2 separate regions of the Homo sapiens genome follow, and region 1 is linked to region 2. Evidence: promoter capture Hi-C in 16 types of primary human blood cells and fetal thymus (Javierre and others, 2016). All regions are on one chromosome and are shown on one strand. The core of a region is centred on a gene start or on the middle of the fragment in contact, and the rest is flanking DNA. Distances in the headings are between cores, read along the strand shown. Region 1 overlaps TBXAS1 (thromboxane A synthase 1). Region 2 holds the start of CLEC2L (C-type lectin domain family 2 member L).

What was found. Contacts are between HindIII fragments. The CHiCAGO score rates a contact against its expected background, and 5 or more counts as called.
Region 1: a contact is called between a fragment that was not itself captured here and the fragment with the promoter of CLEC2L in region 2, in 5 of 17 cell types (endothelial precursors, naive CD4 T cells, naive B cells and 2 more). The highest score is 7.5, in endothelial precursors.

Annotation. Positions count from the first base shown.
Region 1 is chr7:140,005,519-140,009,583 of GRCh38, forward strand. It overlaps TBXAS1 (thromboxane A synthase 1), which reads left to right. Exons shown (of 13, transcript NM_001061.7): 10 at 1,573-1,664. Among named protein-coding and RNA genes, the nearest start is that of PARP12, 55 kb to the right of the region's middle. The HindIII fragment of the contact is 1,123 bases long and covers 739-1,861 here.
Region 2 is chr7:139,520,954-139,525,006 of GRCh38, forward strand. CLEC2L (C-type lectin domain family 2 member L) reads left to right here and starts at 2,732. Exons shown (of 5, transcript NM_001080511.4): 1 at 2,732-3,164. The coding sequence starts at 2,975. The HindIII fragment of the contact is 20,495 bases long and covers 230-4,053 here.

The sequences.
Region 1 (4,065 bases), core at 50-2,549, 480 kb after region 2:
TGGTCACTTGCTCAGCCAGCTGCCCCAGTGGCCTGTGATGGGAGTGGGAAGTGTGGGGTTGGGTGATAACCTTCTAAAGTTAGAACCGTTCCCAGAAATGCAGACGGGAGAGCTTTGGGAAAACCATCCAAACCTTGTTATTTTTTATGACAAAGTAGGAATGCCACCCTGGCCCTCTAAATTCATAAACAGTCACAGACATGGGATTAAACTACATATAATTTCTGCAACGTGGCTTATAGGCATCATTAAACAGCTGCAATATGTTGAATGGCTATGTCATCATAGATTAGCTACGATACTGGCTATGGACTTCAAGACTCCATGTGTCCTGGCCCCTGCCCTTCCACCCCTCTGACCCGAGATGCAGTTCTAACAGGTTCCCGGGTGATGCTGCTGCTGCTGACCCTTGCCCATCCCGGAGCTCACTTTGAGAGCTGGCTGAGATCCCAGGCAGGGTGGCCAGTGGCTGCTCCAGGGCTGTGAAGGGCTCCCCCTGCAGACGGAGGAACTAGGCCTCCCAGCGCCTGTAACTGGAACGTTGGCGGCTTGAGAATGGACTTGCCCTGAAGGCCGGCCTCCTGCTGCTCTGGGAAAAAGAGGGAACAGAAGAAAGCAATCCGCCACCTTGGGGACTCCTCCTGGATTAGCATTATCTAGGTGAAGAAAGTGAGACCATCACCTACCAACCAGATAACTCATTCCACCTCTGTGGGCAAACTGGCAGAGCAGCAAATAAGCTTCCTTAATCCCAGTGCGCCCACACCCTGCTCAAGAGCTCATGGGCACGTGTTCATCTTCAGGCCAAAGATGGGGAGCCAGGGAGTGACAGACTGTCACTCCAGGAGAGTCACCCGGGGGTGTTAGGATCCCCACATTTGCACCCCCTGAAATCTAATCAGCATTTTCCAGCTGTTCCTAATCTGACCTGTGCAAATGGAATCTCATTGGAACTTGCATTTTTCATTATAGTAACTCATATGGCCTCTGTGTTTCGCCTGTTCATAGCCTTTGACCATTTTTCTAGCTAGTTGTCTTTTCCTACTGACTGATAGTAGCTCTTTGGTTTTTGTTACTGTTAGTCCTTTATAGATGTGGCAAACTTTTTTATTTGCTATTTCACTATTTGCCTTTTGACTTCATAATGTGCCATGACTACCCATGTGACAGGCTCTTTGAGCCTCAGTTTTCTCATCTAAGAGATGGGGAAACAGTCACCACACTGGCTTAGTGGAGCATCAAATGCGGTAACGTCTATGCTGCACTTGGTCGGCCACATCGTCAGCTCCCAATAAATGCTGGCGGCTGTGGTTGCCGCTGCAGTTTTATAACCAAACTTCTCTGTATTACGAAGACCCCTGAGCCCCAGGCTAGCACCGTGAAATATAAGCACAATAGAACCACTGAGCGCCAATCAGATGCAATTTGGGTCATACCGACTTTCCATTTTGTGGGGTTTCTGTTTAAATGTTTGCCAAAGTTGGAAACGAGATTGAAATTTAAGGAAAAGACAAAATGCTGTGAGATTTGGGCTAACACGAACTTCTCCCTTTGTCACGACCCCTCCATCAGATGGCCCCTGAGTTCTGCAGCCTCGAGGAAGGCCTGCCCTATCTGGACATGGTGATTGCAGAGACGCTGAGGATGTACCCGCCAGCTTTCAGGTGTGTGGTAGCCCCCTCCCCTGCCCGAGTCCCCACCTCCTACCCCTACCCCCTGCCCCAGCCTGCAGGTCAGGGCCCTCCTCCATCAGTTACCACTTGTGTTTCTGGAGGGCAACGCCTGAGTCCTGGGTTCCTTTGTATCCCCATGGCACCTCAGATATCTGGCCCGCTTTCCTACAGGTTAACAACCTTCTCAAAGCTTCACAGGCATTTTCTTAACACCGCCTTCCTCCCCAGCCCAAGCTGGCCCTTTGGTCTCCTAGCCTTTGCTGGCTTTTGCCATTTCCCCTGCCTGTTCGTTCATTCATTCATTCATTCGTTCATTCATTCATTCAGCAATTGTTTATTGAGCATCTACTCTGTGCCAAGCATTGGGAAATCAGCTGTATATAAAACAGATAAAAGTCCCTGACTGATCTTGGAGCTGGCATTCAGACAGTAGGGGACTGTCTGAGTCCTGGGAGCTCCTTCCTGCCATCCAACACCCCCAGCTGTCCCATCCTGGAGCTCCAACACGACTCACCCTCCAAAACGTCTCACTGCCCCTCAAGACGTCTGTGTTGGGCTTGCCTCACCTGGTCCTCCCTGCCCTTCCTCCTCAGCACTTTGAGCTGTAACTATACACTTCATGTTATATTCTTGGACACATATCTGCCACTCCATGACATTTCACTAATGTACACACCAACCAGCCGGTCACACCAACCTGTGGGTATCTTGAGAGCAAAACCAACTATTGTGCTTCGTTCAAACTCTCCCAAACAAGGCACTCCATAGAGAAGGGCATCTTAATTCATGTCCCCAGACCCCTACAGAGAGTGAAGTAACAGCCAGATTTCAGGCTCTAGAAACAGAAGCAGCACAAAGCATTAACCGTATGTGATAAATTCCACTCAACACTTTTATGAATTAACAGATCACATAAACCATATGGAAATACCTTTCACCATTTTTAAAGACAATATGTGGATGATTTGAGGGTATCTCAAAACGATATTTCAACACAAAAGCATTACAAAGAATGCAATTGTAGACATTGTCCAAATGTTCAAGTCCAGAAGCAAATACAGAAAATTCCGGTGGCGTGATTCGAACTGCATTGTCCTCAAGCACACAAGGTTTTGGGTCTCAGTGTGGAAGCAGGCCAGTCACTCAGGGGCTCTGTGCCCCCTCTCCCCATGCCAGCATTAAGACCTGATGTGCAGCCCTTCCCTGATCTCCTTTGGAGCCTCTTGCAAACTGTCATCCAATTCTTTCTTTTATTCTTTTTTTTTTTTTTTTTTGAGATGGAGTCTTGCTCTGTTGCCCAGGCTGGAGGGCAATGGTGTGATCTTGGCTCACTGAAACTTCTGCCTCTTGGGTTCAAGAGATCCTCCTGTCTCAGCCTCCCAAGTAACTGGGATTACAGGTGCCCGCCACTATGCCCGGCTAATTTTTTGTATTTTTAGTAGAGACGGGGTTTCACCACGTTGGCCAGGCTGGTCTCAAACTCCTGACCTCAGGTGATCTGCCTGCCTTGGCCTCCCAAAGTGCTGGGATTACAGGCGTGAGCCACCAATCCCAGCCTTATTTTTTTCATAATTGATATCCAGCTTTCTTCCAAGGGGATTGTGGGAAGCTGGTGTACATGTTAAAATGAAGTTCAAGATAAAGCATTCAGGGATCAAATAGAACAAAGGCCATTTAAAGGAAAGAAGGCCTTACAGGGCCCCAGAGCTGGCTGGTAGCTGGGGTCCAGCTGTGGCTTGGTGACCAGGGCTCCTGGCCAAGAGGGAGAGCAGCCAAGCCAAACAGGTGTGTTCTCCAGCAAGAGGACAGCACAGAAACTGATCAATGGACACAGTACTTCCTGGACCTAAACTCAGCCACGAATCCATCAGACAAGACCTTATTAGCTGTCATGTTGAATAACAAAGGGGTTAGGCTCTTCAACATGAAAATGCGGTGGCCGATTCTCCACTGACCCGTTATAAACAGCAGAGCAGAAAAGGAAGTTGGTGCAGGTGGACCAGGAAGCTGGTGATCTCACCTGAGGACCAGACAGAAACTAGAGAACCTGGGTGAAGTAGTTAGAATTCATCTAACAGGTCTAGAGGGCACGTCAGAAGACCATCTTGGCCCTGGCCTTGGCATACTGCGTGATCGTGAGCCTCATGCTGCTCCGTGCCTCTCCTTCCTACGGGTTAAATGGGGACACACACCTGCTTGGCTGGCCCTGCAGAAGCAGGCAAGAGGCAGTGGGTGGCACAGGTGGAACTGTAGTGCCCGCTCAGCTGCCTGCAGCATGATGTGTGCAGGGAGGAGCGCCGGCACTGGTCGGACAGTGGAATGGACAGCTTCCATCCAGCCTCGCTCTCCTGAGCCGCCCCTTCCCCACACATGCCCCACACCCGCCCCACAC
Region 2 (4,053 bases), core at 1,482-3,981:
AGGAGAATCAGGCAGGGAGGTTGCAGTGAGCCGAGATGGCAGCAGCACAGTCCAGCTTCGGCTCGGCATCAGAGGGAGACCGTGGAAAGAGGGGAGAGGGAGAGGGAGGGGGAGGGGGAGGGGGAGGGAGAGGGAGAGCCCAAAGTTAATTTTCCTAAAGCATGGTGTGATCATGACCTTTCTCTGCTCAAACACCTTTGATGCTTCCTTGTGCCTACATGAAGTCTGAAGCTTTGGGCCTGGTGTTCCAATGGGGCACTGCCCTAGGAATGGGGGATAGAGCAGTGCCTCTGCCCTCACCCCACAGCTGGCCATCTGGTTGGGGATCAAACAATGACAGTAGGATGTGGCAAGTGCTATGGGAAGAGAGGTGGAGAGTGTTCCAAAGGCCCAAAGGACAGGTGCCACAGTCTGGGATCACAGGAGGCTTAGGAGGCAGGGATTGCTGGTCATGCACATATTCCATTCCCCCCTTCTTCCTAACAGAATCTCTGCATTATTGAGCGTGGCAATGGCTTTAGCTAATTGCCACTATACTCCACAAACTTACTTGAGAAAGAAGTGTCCAGTGGAAGGTAAGTGGAAATCACTGGGGGTTCCAGAAAAACTCTTTAAAGGAGTCTGATTCAACAAGAGGCATGCCCTTTTCCCCTTGGTTCTTCCTCTTTCTGTAATCTGGTGTGCAGGTGTGATGGCTGGAACCACAGTGGCTATAGTGTGACCATGAGGGAATCCTGAAGATGTAGGCTATATACTAAGGATGATGGGAGCAGAATGAGAGGAAGAGCTAGGGTCCCTGATGATCTTGGAGCTCTCAATCCAGCCCTGGGCTGATCACCTCTAGACTTCTTTCAGGTAAAAAAAACACAAAAAACCAAAAAACAAAAAACAAAAACCTTCTTTCTAGTTAAACTCTTACTGGGGTTTTCTGTTGTAGTCTTGTTGAACCTACTCTGAATGAATGCAGTATCCTAGAGACTGTGCAATCAGAAGCATTAGCAGAAATTTGGTAGGCAAACTAGGGTGCATGGGGGCTACAAGGAGGGGTTAGAAGGACCAAGGAGGAGATGTGTTCCAGGCAGAAGGAAGACAGTGTTCAAAGGCCCAGAGGAAAGAGTCAGAATAGTTAGGTGTGTCTAGGGCTGGCAGAGAAGGGGTGGGAGGAGAGGATGCCTTAGGTAGGAGCAGGACTTTGACCATGAGGGACCTTGAGGCCTTGTAAAAAGATGGCCTTAATCCACAGGTAAAGGGACCCCTGAAGGAGTGGTGAGTTTGCACTTTAGGTAGATGCTGCGGGTGTGGAGGGGGAGGGGCTGGATAGGAGGGAGCAAGAGTGGAGGATGGGAGACCCCTTAGAAGGCTGCTGCTGTGGTCGGGCAAGAGAAGGCATTGGCTTGTACTTGGCCAGTGGCTAGAGGGATGGAGTGCAATGCGCAGACTAAGAGTTTAAAAGGGGCCGGGCGGCCGGGCGCGGTGGCTCACGCCTGTAATCCCAGCACTTTGGGAGGCCGAGGCGGGCGGATCACGAGGTCAGGAGATCGAGACCATCCCGGCTAAAACGGTGAAACCCCGTCTCTACTAAAAATACAAAAAAATTAGCCGGGCGTAGTGGCGGGCGCCTGTAGTCCCAGCTACTTGGGAGGCTGAGGCAGGAGAATGGCGTGAACCCGGGAGGCGGAGCTTGCAGTGAGCCGAGATCCCGCCACTGCACTCCAGCCTGGGCGACAGAGCGAGACTCCGTCTCAAAAAAAAAAAAAAAAAAAAAAAGGGGCCGGGCACGGCAGCTCACGCCTGCAATCCTAGAACTTTGGGAGACCCAGGTGGGAGGATCGCTTGAGCCTGGGAGGCCGAGGCTGTAGTGACACTGCACTCCAGCCTGGGCTACAGAACGAGACCCTGTCTCAAAAAATAAAAATAAAAATATTTTAAAAGGGAGAATTCACAAGAGTCAGTGGCCTATTGGATTTGGGGGAGGGAGCAGGAGGAGCTGGGGATGAGGAACTGAAGATGGAGACAGGAACCAGAGGTTGGGGCTGAGAATGGTGGAGGGGGAAGAGGATCAGGGCTGGAGGCGTGGGGCTTCAGGCGACGCGAGGTCAGCTGAGGCAAGGGGCCAGTGAAGGCTCCGGAGGGAGCCCTGGCCTGGGAGTCAGACACCCGCCAAGCACGCACCTGCCTGGCGCCGCCTTCGGAAATGTCCTTGACCTCAAAATTCCACTTCTCAGCCTCACCTGGGGGCATTGTCAGCTAATAATATGTGAAAGTCCCTGGCGCTTAGTAGGTGCTCAATAAATGTTAATTGAATCTGCAACGTCACTTCGCTTGCTCCTTTAGACTCTACTGTCTCTGTGCTCATCGTTCGGACGTTTCTCTCCTTTATCAAGAGTTTGGGGGTCAAGTCACAGCCCCTACCACCCTCTGCTGTGGCTCCAGGGCAGCCGGGAAGAAAGGCGCTCATCTTCCCTGAGCCTCCCTGCACTGTCCCCGCGAACTTTATTCCCATTTTCACAGATGGTGAGCAGGCGGCTGGGGAGATGGAGCTGAGTTAGAACCAGGTCTCCCGGCTCCAAGACTGCGCTCCCAGCTCGACAGCATCCAGCCTCCAGCCCAGGTGGCGGGGTCGGGGAGCCGGCTGTCCCCGCTCCTCCGCGCCTCCTCCCTCTCCGCCCCTGCCCCGCCCCGCCCGGGTCCACGGCTCCCGGCTCCCGCGCGCCGCCTCGCGCTCCTCCCCAGCCCGGCTGTGCGTGGAGGCTGCGGCTCGGCGGGGCAGGCGCTGAGCGCACCGCGGCGGCACCCGGCGCAGAGGCTCCAGCGCGGGGAGCCGGGCTCAGCCCCGGCCTGCCAGCGCCGCGGTCCTAGCCCACCCGAGGCCGGCCTGGGGGGCCCGCAGGGCGCGCGGAGCGCCGAGTGCGCGTCGGGCTGGGCCCCGCACCCCGGTGCAGGAGCGCGGGCGCGGCGCGGCGGAGCGCCCCGCATGGAGCCGGCCCGGGAGCCCCCCTCGCGGGCCCGGCCGCCGCCGCCCCTCGCCGCGCGCCCCGCGCCCGCCCCCGCCGCCCCCAGGCCGCGTTCGCCCGCAGAGGCTGAGGCCCGCGGCCCCGAGGGGCTGCTGCGGCGATCCGGGTCGGGCTACGAGGGCAGCACCAGCTGGAAGGCGGCCTTGGAGGGTAAGCGCGGAGCGGCCTCCCTCTCCTGGCCCAGGGACCCCTGCCCAGGCCCGACCCGCGACCCGGAGGCGGTCAGAGTCACCTTGGCCGCTGTCCCGGAGGGGAGCGCTGGGAGCGCGGCGCCGGGACGCGGCGGAGTCATTCATTTCAGGGCGGCCAGACGCCGGTTCGTGGGGTGGGGTGGGAGGGAACCGGGGGCCACCGCGAGTCACAGCCTCGACCCCGCCTCTGCTGCGACTCCCTCTCTGACCTTGGAGCGGGCTTCACGCTCTGAGCCTTCGTCTCCTCACGCATGAAGGGGACAAACACTGCCTGACACCCACCAGACAGGCGTGTTGAGAGGGTGGCGGAATCTGTGGTCGTGAACACGCTTCGAGTAAAGTAAGAAAGCTGGAGACCCCAGAGGTGGTGCCCGCCCCTGTGAGAGCCGCGGGGACCCCGTGGTGGTGGGGCATGTGGGGAGGGCAGGGCAGGGCAGGGGTGGAGAATCCAGGAGAGGCTCTTCCTTGCAAGGTCAGGGGTCACACCTACTCCTCCATCAGACTGCCTCAGGGAGGGACCCCTGGCCTGCCTCCGGGGCAGTAACCCAAGTAGAGAATTGATTTCAAGTTCATGAGCTCTTTAAGGAAACTTGTATTAGCTACCGCCGGCGGCGTGTGGTGTGGGAGATGCAGGAGTTGGTGAGAGGGTGGCTGGCCCTTTGGGTGCTTCTCAGGGTGCTCCTGGCACCCTGAATCCAAGGACAAGGAGGACCTGGGCAGCATTAACTAGGGAAGCCTGGAGCCTGGATCACCCATCCTTAGGGAGGCAGTGTCAGAAAAGGAGGGCTTCCCAGGAGTAGGTGACCTCTTAGCAGGCGTGGAGACAGAGGGGAAGGTGTTCCAGACCC